2 separate regions of the Homo sapiens genome follow, and region 2 is linked to region 1. Evidence: promoter capture Hi-C in human tissues and cell types (Jung and others, 2019). All regions are on one chromosome and are shown on one strand. Each heading gives the region's core, a stretch centred on a gene start or on the middle of the fragment in contact. The rest is flanking DNA. Distances are from core to core; before and after follow the strand shown. Region 1 holds the start of ATP12A (ATPase H+/K+ transporting non-gastric alpha2 subunit). Region 2 has its middle 36 kb from the start of ATP12A.

What was found. The method cuts DNA at HindIII sites, captures the fragments that hold promoters and counts their contacts. A contact is called where the count stands out against the background at its distance.
Region 2: a fragment that was not itself captured here is called in contact with the fragment with the promoter of ATP12A in region 1 in 2 of the 25 tissues and cell types used here (H1 embryonic stem cells and mesendoderm cells).

The regions. Positions count from the first base shown.
Region 1 is chr13:24,676,583-24,682,514 of GRCh38, forward strand. ATP12A (ATPase H+/K+ transporting non-gastric alpha2 subunit) reads left to right here and starts at 3,826. Exons shown (of 23, transcript NM_001676.7): 1 at 3,826-4,170; 2 at 4,980-5,138. The coding sequence starts at 4,162. RefSeq lists a silencer at 3,874-4,183 and an enhancer at 5,377-5,932. The HindIII fragment of the contact is 3,620 bases long and covers 2,987-5,932 here.
Region 2 is chr13:24,641,813-24,647,777 of GRCh38, forward strand. No RefSeq gene overlaps it. Among named protein-coding and RNA genes, the nearest start is that of ATP12A, 36 kb to the right of the region's middle. The HindIII fragment of the contact is 4,818 bases long and covers 1-4,080 here.

The DNA.
Region 1 (5,932 bases), core at 2,576-5,075:
TGCAAAGGGATGGAAAAAAATCTGAATAACTAATCCTAAGTAGTACAAGTTATGCCATTTCCCCCAGAGAAACCTCTTTCCTCTAAACTCTGAAGGCACTTAGAGCCCATACCAGTTAGTGCTAAATTATTTTCCCTTTTGGCCCGTTTACTATTGGTTCTTCACTAATTTGGTCTCTCCAACTCAAGTCCAACTTCCTAGAGGGCAGAGGATGGCATGATTTTAGTACCATATCTCCCCACCACCCCTATATCTAGTACAGCTTAAATACATGAAGTATATAATTTAATTAAAACAGGCTGAAAATACATATATCATGACATCCTATCCCAAATATATAATGTTCGTCAATATGAGCAGGTATAATAGAGAACCTTGGCGTGGATAGGCTTGTTTTGAAAAGCAGCAAAACCTCAAGCAGAAGCTGCTACTAGCACATGTGGGCTGAGGAAGTCTCCCGGCTGCAGCCTGGCCTCTATGGCCAACCCTCTAGGAGCCATTTGCACTGGGTGGGATCAGGGTACATTGCTCAGAACATTGTGGGTGATGGCCCTGGGACCGAACGTGTCTCAGGAGAAATCCAATTCCTGATTCTACAGGTAAGTGCCTCCAGATGCCTGCATCACAGTTACCCAGGGCCTACCCACCTCAAGGCAGAGTCGGGTATCCAGATGACTAGAGGCAGCAAAGGACACGATTCTGGAGTTAGGGTTGGGGAATGGCCCCATTTTCCTTCTTTGGTAGAAGTCAACACTCCAGGACACCTGAATGGCACCAGAGGCTGCCACAAGGGCCATAGCAGTGACAGCTGAGACTAGTCCCTGGCAGAAGCCAAGAACTCTGCAGGATCAGAGAGGTGCCAGAGAACCTGACCATGGAAATGTTTTTGTCCTGCTTGTAGTAATAAACCGTCTTCCACCCTTGATACCAAAAGGAATAAGCAGCAATCTTGGGCTCAATGGCTCACACCTGTAATCCCAGTATTTCTGGGGCAGAGGTGAGCGGATCGCTTGAGCCCAGGAGTTGGAGGCCCGCCTGGGCAACATGGTGAAATCCCTTCTGTACCAAAAAAAACCACAAAAATTAGCTGTGCCTGTAGTCCCAGCTACTCAGGAGGCTGAGGTGGGAGAATGGCTTGAGCCCAGGAGGCGGAAGTTGCAGTGAGCTGTAATCACACTGCACTCCATCCTGGGCAACAGAGCAAGACCGTCTTAAGAAAAAAAAAAAAGCGGCAATCTTCTCCAAGGATCAAGGGAGGGTGCCATCAGTTAGTACTTTCTAAAGCTGTGTCACCATCTCTTTTTAGCCCACTTCCCCTCCCCGCTCCCCATCCCTCAGTCAAGTCCCTAGGATCTGAGTTTGCTTTTGGAGCTTGAACTGGCCTTGAGCTCAGAGACATCTCTCTGCGGACCCTGCTTCTCTATTCTACATCTGTCCCAATAGTTGGAGCAGGGGCTGGAACAGCTTAAGGTGAGCAGCAGCCACCTGTTCCCAAAAAACCCTTAGCTTGGATTATCAGCAGACAGTGGAACATCAGTTTCGTACACATTTTGTATTTCTCACCCCATCTGCAAACCTTTCCTTTGAAGAGTATTCCAAGAATGGAACCCAGAGCTCCCCAGAAGCACACTGTTGCTTGGGTTTGGACTAGAATTTAATGTTCCCTCCAACTCTAGAGAATCCATGATGTGTATCTTTACACCAGATGCCACTAGGAGTCTTCCTGTCCCTTATCATTTTAGTTAAGAAGTGACTCATTGCTGTCATCCTTGCTTCACAGAGGGAGGAACCCAGGCTTCAGATTCTGCCCTTTTGGAACGGAAGAAGGAGGGAGAGCGGGGAAAGACCTATGTGTGCAGCACTATGGAGACAGTTCACTATGTCGGGTACAACACATTCCCTTAGTCTCATTTGAAAGCCATGATGAACAGAGAGGTGTGGAAAATCTAAGATCACAAATATGCCATGAGAAAGTATCTTTGTCTCTACTGCTACTTTACAAAACCACGTCTCTAACTGCTAACACTTCAAATTCCCTCAAAATAAGCTTCTTTTCCCAATTGTCCCTCACCACCAACTATAGTCATGCTCTGAAATTATTATGGAAATTTAGCATCTGAAAGGAACAGGAAGTTATAATTAATTCCTAATTAGAATTGGGCACAAGCTTTTTTTTCTTATTTTTTTTTTAATTTTTTTATTGTGACAGAGTCTCGCTCTGTCGCCCAGGCTGGAGTGCAGTGGCGCGATCTCCACTCACTGAAAGCTCCACCGTCTCCCGGGTTCATGCCATTCTCCTGCCTCAGCCTCCCGAGCAGCTGGGACTACAGGCGCCCACCACCATGCCCGGCTAATTGTTTTGTATTTTTAGTAGAGATGGGGTTTCACCGTGTTAGCCAGGATGGTCTCGATCTCCTGACTTCGTGATCCGCCCGCCTCGGCCTCCCAAAGCGTTGGGATTACAGGCGTGAGCCACCGCGCCCGGCCGGGCACAAGCTTATTGTTTTTCTTCTACCTTTTCTAAATGTACCCAATGCTCTTCATGTTTTCTGCCAGATGTTCTAGTCACTGCATGATGGGATTGTTACTTTTGCTGCTTCTCTGGACTCCTCACTCTTAGTCATTTTAAATATGGTCAAAATGACAATCTTTCTTACCATATTTGATATATAACTTTCAAAAAGAATAAAACTTAGCACCCTCCTATTAGTCCTTATCTAAATGGAAACTTATTAGCAGAGCATCAAGGGCCCAATAAAGTGCCCCCTCTTTTGAAACTTATCTCTACTCCCTTTCATATATTTCAATCATGTCAATTTCTTATTGTTCTTCTAAATAGGTGCTGATTACTAAACTCTATTCGTGGGTTTTATTTTTTATGTTCCTCTCCATTAATTAATATTCTTCACTGACTTTAAGACTTCACGATTCATTCTTTTAAAAGAACGTGTTTGATTTCCTCCACTGTTAACTGCTAAATATCTCTCTGATATATTGTTTTCAGGCTATCTTTCTCATCTGGAGTAATTATGTTTCAAGTGTCAGGGGGAAAATACCTTTTCTATCCTGTGCAAAAACTCATGCTGGGCACTAAGAGCATGGAGCATGTCCCAGTTATCTATTGCTGCATAACAAACCAACCCAAACTTAGCAGTATAAAACAACCACTGCTTTAGTATGCACATCAACTTTCAGGGTCAGAAATTCTTTTCTCCTTCATGTATAGAGTCTCAGCTGGGAGTGACATAAATAGGTGGAGACAGACCTCTCCAGCCCAGTCCAGCCAACAGCCTCCGCTCCTGCGCACCCGCAGCCTGGGGCCCCAGGTTCCTGTGGTCTCACCGACCCTAATCCTCTCATCTCTCCTCCCCATTCCCTCTCCAAATTGTTTCAGAATTCCAAATTCTTATCTGGATCCGGCAAATTAATTCAGCTACTCTTCAGAGTCTCTCAGTTATTCCCAAATTCTCTCGGAAGCTTGAATTTACCTATCTAAATCCATTCTCAAAAACACATTGGCCTTTTCTAGCCGGGACATCTCCAACAGTAGTTGCTGTTAGAAACTGCAATTTCCCCTTCTCTGCATACACATTTTTATAAATTGATTTATTGGTAGGCAAATTACATTTTTAAAAAAAGGCATGTGTGGGTTTTCAGGGAAGCCTGGACAGGACGTGGGCGTGCCGGGAGCTCGCCGGAGCAGCTGGTCCGGCTCTGGGCGCCCAGCGGAACCAGGGCTGTACTCACCTGGATGCCGGACCCGCCCCCTAGAGACCCCGCCCCCTGGCGTTCGGCTACTAAAGGGAAGGGGATTCCCAGGGGGTCCTCAATCCTGGACTCTCCCGACCCCTAGCTGTCGGTCCCCCTCCCTGCGCGCGCGCCGGCGGGTTTCCTACCCTCCGAGGCGTCCGCTGGCCTGCGCCCTGGCGGGGACGTGGGCGGGGCGGGCGGCATTTAAGGCTGGTGCCACCTCCCCGGTGCAGCGGCTGGCGATCGGCCGCGGAGGTGCGTGCAGGGCCCGCGCCGCCGCCGGTATCTCCACCGCCAACACCTCAGCCACTGCCACTGCCACAGCCACACGAGGCCCCCCACCGTGCGCTCCGCCGCTGCGGTCCCGGATCCGCGCTCCACGCCCGCAGCCCGCGGCGCCACCAGCCCAGCATGCACCAGGTGCGTGCAGCCCCCGCGCCGGCCGAGGATGCGAGACGCTGGGCCAAGGCCCCGGGGACCGGAGCAGGCTGACGGGAAGCGAGGAAAAGGCGAAGAGGAGAAACGCCCCGTCCCGGGGCAAGGGGAGGCCGCCTTTCCTCTGAGCGCCCCCCGGCCTGGGCACCGCTTCTCTGACTCCCCGCCACGGCTCCGTGCGGCCGCCGGGGCTGGCTGGGGAAAGAAGCCAGTCCAGAGGAGCGAGAAGGGGCCAAGGGGTCCTAGGCCAGCTCCATGGCACCTGCGGGCTCCGACTCGGAGGATGGGGTGACATGGATTCGTTGCGGTCTGAAAAGACTTCCGGTTAGGGCCCCCTGATCAGGACTGAGGGTCGTAAGCTTAGTGGGTGCCTCCTCCCCAAGAAACAGGACGCACAGCTGTTGTGTCCCCTGGGAAGGACACCTCAGAGGAAACCTCGAGGTGCCTAAGGAACCTCGAGGTTCTAAGGAAACCTCACAGCTCCTTGGAGGCATCAGTCAGGAGTTGGGGGGGTAACTTCCCACCTGCTCCACCCAGAGAAGGGTCACCCTGAGGAGCTGCTGGCTGGCCTGTGCCCACCCCGCCTCCCCTCTACACGGACGGAGAGGAAGCCAAGGTCGGCGGGAGGTGGGGGAGAGACTCCACTGTCCGACTCCCTCCGGCCTCCCCAGAGGAGGGAAGGAAAGGGAGAAGGGGCTCCTGACTCCTGCAGGTCCTGACCCCGCAGAGGGGCGCTCAGCACCTCTTCGGAAACCCCATTTGGGGCCAATATTGCACCTGGGCTTCTCTTTCAGAAAACCCCAGAAATTTACTCCGTGGAGCTCAGCGGAACTAAGGACATCGTGAAAACAGACAAGGGGGATGGCAAGGAGAAGTATAGGGGTCTGAAGAACAACTGCCTGGAACTCAAAAAGAAAAATCACAAAGAGGAGTTTCAGAAAGAACTCCATCTGGTCAGTAGCCTTAAGCCACGGGGTCCTGCCGGCTATGGCCCTTCCCCGCAAGAGCTTGCCCCTAGAACCCACCTCTTACCACAGACATTCAGTCTGAGGGATTTGAAATCCCCTTGAGATTGTGTGTGGTGTGTGGTGTCTGCGTGGTGTGTCTGTGTGGTGTGTGTGTGTGGTGTATGTGTGGTGTGTGTGTATGTGTGGTGTGTCTGTGTAGTGTGTGGTGTGTGTGTGTATGTGTGGTGTGTGGTGTATGGTGTGTGGTGTGTGTGTATGGTGTGTGGTGTGTGTATATGGTGTGTGTAGTGTGTGGTGTGTGTATGTGTGTGGTGTGTGTGTATGGTGTGTGTGTATGGTGTGTGTATGTGTGGTGTGTGTGATGTGTGTGTGATGTGTGTGTGGTGTGTGTGTGTGGTGTGTATATGTGTGTGGTGTGTGTGTGGTGTGTGTATGTGTGTGGTGTGTGTATGTGTGTGGTATATATGTGTGTGGTGTGTGTGGTGTGTGTATGTGCATGGTATGTGTGGTGTGTGTGTAGCGTGTGGTGTGTGTGTAGTGTGTGGTGTGTATGTGTGGTGTGTGTATGTGCATGGTATGTGTGGTGTGTGTGTAGCGTGTGGTGTGTGTGTAGTGTGTGGTGTATATGTGTGGTGTGTGGTGTGTGTGTGGTGTGTGGTGTGTGTATGTGTGTGTGTGTGTTTTGAATGGTGTGATAGTATCCACCCAGAGGTCAGGGCCTCTGCAGGATTCCTGCATTCTGGTTGGAGGCAGTCCCTGTAGAACTCAGAAGGAAGAGC
Region 2 (5,965 bases), core at 422-2,921, 37 kb before region 1:
AAAATAACCGGTGCCTCCAATTTTTTTTTTTTTTAAACTCTTATTGAACTTATGCGGACAACTATATCGTCACAAAATTACAATCTGAATTTTGGTGAACCCAAAAGGTAAGTTTGCTTACAAAAACACAATTTACTCCTCCCCCAAAAAAGACAAAATAAAAAATAAACATACTTTAGCCAAATAGCTTAAAAGAAAAAGAAAGATTTTCTTAACCTTTCTTTAACCAGAGCAGCAGCTTTAAAACCAGATGCTTGTTTACCTTGGAAATGCCAATTACAAACAAAACAGCTCATGAGAGCTGTCTATCAGGCACTGTAGCATTTAGTAGCTCCTCACAATTAGTTCTAGGAAAGAGGCTCTCTTCTTATTAGGTAGCAAGATTTTATGTAAACCATTTTTATTTTATCACAGAACTCTTTGGGGAAATATTATTTCTATTAGCATAGGGGTAGCTTCAGTTAATATTTCATGGCAAGGCAATAAATGCCCCAACAAGTGGAAATTCTCTAATTCAGTCATTGTCATTGAAAAGTACTCATGATCTTTGTCATCGGCCCCGATAAATGTTCCACTCAAAGGGCTACGCAGTGGAGGATTTGTCCCGATTAGCACTCCAGCTCCTACCCTATACTTTGTGGGCTTAGACGATTTTACTAGTTCCTATTTAGTGTGTTCAAATAACATTTCCTAGAAGAGCAGATTTACATGCCCTCAGTTTTACAGTACTAGGAAAAGGAAAACGTCCCCCAGTTAGACATAGTACCCATTTTCATAAGACATTTAGGTAAAAGGGGTTACAACTACCTTACATAAAGCTTGTTTAAACATCATAAATTGTATAATTCTATTAAACTCTATGTTTTTATGTTCGGGTCCCAGGAACCCTTTTACACCCCCAGTCTATTTTACCTTTTCTGGTGAAAAGAGTTTGGGTTCCCAGCAGGGAGTTGTGTCTGTAAGACCTGTGAGGGACAGCAAATTGGATAAGGCTTCTTAAACAGTCCTATGATTCTGTGCAAGGGGCACTCATGTAAAAGGGGGCCCCTTAACCCCCAAATTTACCATGACCTTGAGTAGTAGGCATATTTGGTGGGAAGATACCTCAGTTATCATAAAGCCAGTCCAACATGGCTTGCATATGAAGCATGTTAATGCTTCACCTGGGGTGCTTCACTTGGTATTTTATAGAGAGAGTTGGGCAGTCCCCTTCTCAGGGCAAACAGACCTTACTGGATTTATCCAGTCCACTAGGCTGATTCTTTTCTCAGGAATAACCTTCTGTTCATTTGGATCACATATACTCATCAGTGATTGTTCAGTAGTGAGCTGTGGGTCCTGTATTAATCCAAACACGCTCTTAAATTCTGTAGCATTTAAAATGAATAATTTTGTCCTTAAAAGTGGTGGCTTTTACAATCCACTAAAGATTTTTTAAAGAAGCCGAATGATACCAGTCTACAAAATGGAACAATTTACATTATGCCCTCTGGTTTTTAATGATTACTTGGCTTTACCACAGGGTTCAGATTTAACTTTTGTTGCCCTGGCTTGCTTTCTTTTTTAATCCATTTAGTTTTATCTGTATAATTCTCTTTCATTATAAAGCTACTCTTAGTTTCTTAACCAAAAAACTTACATTTTTTTGAAAATTGACATCCTTGTGTTTTATAAAATTTTGCCAAAAGCATATTTTACGCTCCAACTATTTTAAATTTTAGTAACCCAAATTTCCAGTGGGGGAAAAAAACAGGTTTTTAACATGACTTTAAAATTTTAAATTACTGGGGAGAGTTTTAAGATTAAATTTACCAAGTTTATTTTACCGAAGATTACCAAGTCATGTGAATTAAAAGGCATCTGAGCTAGCTTCTACCAATCTGATAAGCACTTAACATTTTTTAAGTTACTTGATTAGAGCTCTTTCATGTAGTTTGGTAGTAAAATATCACTTCCCCATGACACAAATAAAGATAGAGATATAAAAAGCATGCAGAATAAAAAGGCAGTTTCAAAAGATATTTTATTTGCCAATTTTCAAGAAAATTATCTCACTTATTTTAGACAGTTAATAAAAGTAACAGCAGACAACAAAAGGTAAAGAAGAAAGCTACCATTCAAGGCCTTGCCTTTTCACAAGAGAAAGAGTTGAACTTCTGAGCTATCAATCTGAAGAATGTTAAAGACAGATGATAGAATGTTAAAGTTTAAAAACTTCATGCATTAAAAGTCAAATATTTGTAATAAAATATTGATTTGACTATTTAGTTTTGTATTAGTGTACTTTTAAGTATCAAAGACCCATCTCTACAAAGACTATTATAATTTCCTCTTCATTATAACCAACTGAATTACACAACTGTCAGAGGCATGTGAACCAGAGCAACTCTATCTTGAATAAGGGCTGGGTAAAATGAGGCCAAGACCTACTTGGCTGGATTCCCAGACAGTTAAGGCATTCTAAGTCACAGGATGAAATAGGAGATCAGTACAAGATACAGGTTATAAAGACCCTGCTGATAAAACAGTTTGCAGTAAAGAAGCCAGCTAAAACCCATCAACACCAAGATGGCCATGAGAGTGACCTCTGGCCATCCTCACTGCTACACTCCCCCCAGCGCCATGACAGTTTACAAATGCCATGGCAATGTCATGAAGTTACACCATATGGTCTAAAAGGGGAAGGCATGAATAATCTACCCCTTATTTAGCATATAACCAAGAAATAACTGTAAAAATGGGTAACCAGCAGCCCTCGGGGCTGCTCTGCCTTATGGAGTAGCCATTCTTTATTCCTTTACTTTTCCAATAAGTTGCTTTCGCTTTACTCTATGGGCTCGCTCTGAATTCTTTCTTGCATGAGATTCAAGAACCCTTTCTGGAGTATAGTGCTGCAAACACAGCTCACTGTAGCCTCAACCTCCCAGGCTTAAGCAATCCTCCTGCCTCAGCCTCCCGAGTGGCTGGGACTACAGGTGCATGCCACCATGCCCAGCTAAGCTAATTTTTTCTATTTTTTGTAGAGACAAGGTGTCACTATGTTGCCCAGGCTGGTCTCAAACTCCTGGACTCAAACAGTCCTCCTGCCTTGGACTCCCAAAGTGTTGGGATTTCAGGCATGAGCCACCACACTGAGCCAGGTGAGTTTTGACAAATATATACACCCATATGGCCCAGCACCTCAGTCACAATACAGAATGTCTCCATCACCGCACATGGTTCCCAACTCGACCTCAAACCCAAGTGCTATGGAGTCACTGATTCTGATTTTAATATGCTGTATTATTTGCTATAATACAGCATATACATTTCATGTACATTTTTGTGACAAATGATATGTTTTTATTTTCATTTTTATTGGTACAAAATACTTTCTAATTTCTCTTGTGATGTCTTCTTTTACCCATGGTTATATAAGAAATGTGTTACTTAATTTTAAAACATTTGGGGATTTTCCAAATATCTTTTATTGTTGAATTTGTAAAGGATCTATCCAACAAACTGTTGAGCTCACTTAATAGTAGTTACAGTTCATAATGAGATTCTCTTGGATTTTCCTTATAGATATTTCATCTGACAGTATAAATTTTACATCGGCCAGAATCCCCAGTGTAATATTAAACTGTGGAGGTGATAACAGGGATGTTTGTGTCTGATTTTAATGAGCCTCTTTTAAGATTTCACTATTCAGTGTGAAGTTTGCTATAGGTTTTGAGGCAATACACTTTTAATAAATTAAAGATTATTTATCATAAGCAGAGTTGGGATATTTGAGTGAATTTTCTAAATCTACTGATATAACAATATGATTTTTTCTTTTAATTTGCCAGTGTGATGGATTACATTGAAGATTTTTTTTGCACTCCTCAGATAAACTCTATTGCTCTTTTTATTTTGAATAAAATTCTGGATTTATTTTGCTTGCTATGTTGTATTTTGATAGTGATTTTAACATATCTGAAATATGTTTGAGCAGAAGTGAGGTGAGAATCAAAATTAGCTTATTCTACAGCTATTTTTTCTTATACCGTTTATTGAATGATTCATGTTTCCCATACAGTATGTTCTAAATAATTTTTGATCTTTCTTTTATTATTGTTATTTAATTTTTATTTTTTGAGACAAAGTCTCATTCTGTCACCCAGACTGGAGTGCAGTGGCATGATCTCGGCTCACTGAAACCTCTGCCTCCTGGGCTCAAGTGATCCTCCCACCTCAGCCTCCTGAGTAGCTGGGACTCAGGTCCAGCTCAGTAACTGGGACAGGCATGCACCACCATGCCCAGCTAATTTTTTTTTTTTGTAGGGATGGGGTTTTTCCATGTTGCCCAGGCTGGTCTTGAACTCCTGGGCTCAAGCCATCCTCCCATCTCAGCCTTCCAAAGTGCTGGGATTACAGGCATGAACCACTGCACCCAGCATGGTCTTTTTTTTTTTTTTTTTTCAATATTTTCATTGTCCTGTTGTAGGGAGACCCCCTGAAACTATTGCTACGGAATAAAAGATAAAATGCCCCTGATTATCGTAAATACAAAATTGCCTGCAGGATTGTGTAAAGACAATGCCAGTTTGGGCTGCCAGAACGAGCCAACAGCGTGATGTGCTTCCCCCCTAGAGAGCCTATGAATGGACGTGCAGTCAGGGAGGTTTCACATCACCAAGATTCCTATCCCAGAAAAGCAGATGTTCATAGCTCTGGGAATGGAATGCAACCCTTGTGGAGAGCCTATAAACAGACACATGAGGGGCACCGGTTCATATGGATAAGATAGGGTTATAAATGCCCTCATCTTGCCACAGCTCTTCCAGGTCTCTTTAGGGTTAAGGCATACTCCCTTCTGAGAATTTTTGGTCTAACTGGTTGTCTAGCTTCACGTCCTGTTTCTATGGATTGTTTGCAACCAGCTTTTGCTGCAACTGTTACTGCTGATTAATATTGGCTAATCATAGGTTATGGATAGACTGTGTTTCTGTTTTAAGGCTCTGTTAGAAATTGCTGACGCACACACTATATTGTAAATTCTCATCTCTGCATACTGTACTTCTGCATACCAATGTTATGTTAAAGAATTGCTTCATCCCCATTTGACCATTTCACCTCATAATCAAACGACCCTAAATCCCTCACTAACTGACCCCCACCCTCACTAAACTTAGTAATAAATGCTGGTATATCCAGTGCATTGGCGGCATTGCAGGACCAGAAGGCGGTGACCCCCCTGGACCCAGCTTTCACTATCTTGTGTGTGTCTTTTATTTCTCAACCTGCCGATCCGCCTGGGAACAAAGAAAAAGCCCCGTTGCACTGTGGGCTGCTGGCCAGATCCTGCAATATCCTGTAGTTTTAATAAATGTATTTTAATGTTACTGGCCACTTCAGATTTTTCTTGATTGTTTAATCCAATGAAGGTTTTAAAGATATTCTCATACAGGGAAATGTTAAAATATCTCTCTCAAAGGGATGTCTATGTCTTGGCTGGAAATATTACTCAGTGAGAAATAATTTTAGGCCATAGGGAGATCTCTTTATCTTTGCAAGGGCATTTACTGCCTTAAATGCATTTTAATTGATAGGGAAGAGAGAAAGTCCAATGTAGGTCCACCTACTTGATAACTAAGGCTGAAATCCAGTTCAAGCTGGGCCTGGGGACAGCAGCAGGCTCAGGTGACCAGGGAGGAACCTGGTTCAGCTTCATTCCCTTCAGAATTCTCCAAGGACAAGGCTCCCACCCTTCCGAGCAGGCAGGACTGTGGTCAAGCACATGCCTTTGCCCACACATTAACAACTGTCATGAGTTTATGTGTTTTCTTTTCGAAGGAGGATGCATTCAGACACATCTGTGTGTGTTTCTACAGACGTACATTCAGGAATATGGAGCATCGCAGCTGGGAGTGTGCACCTGCTCCTCACAGTGATGTGACCTATCCTGATGTGTTTTCCCTTGACAATGTCTTGGAGAGCTTTC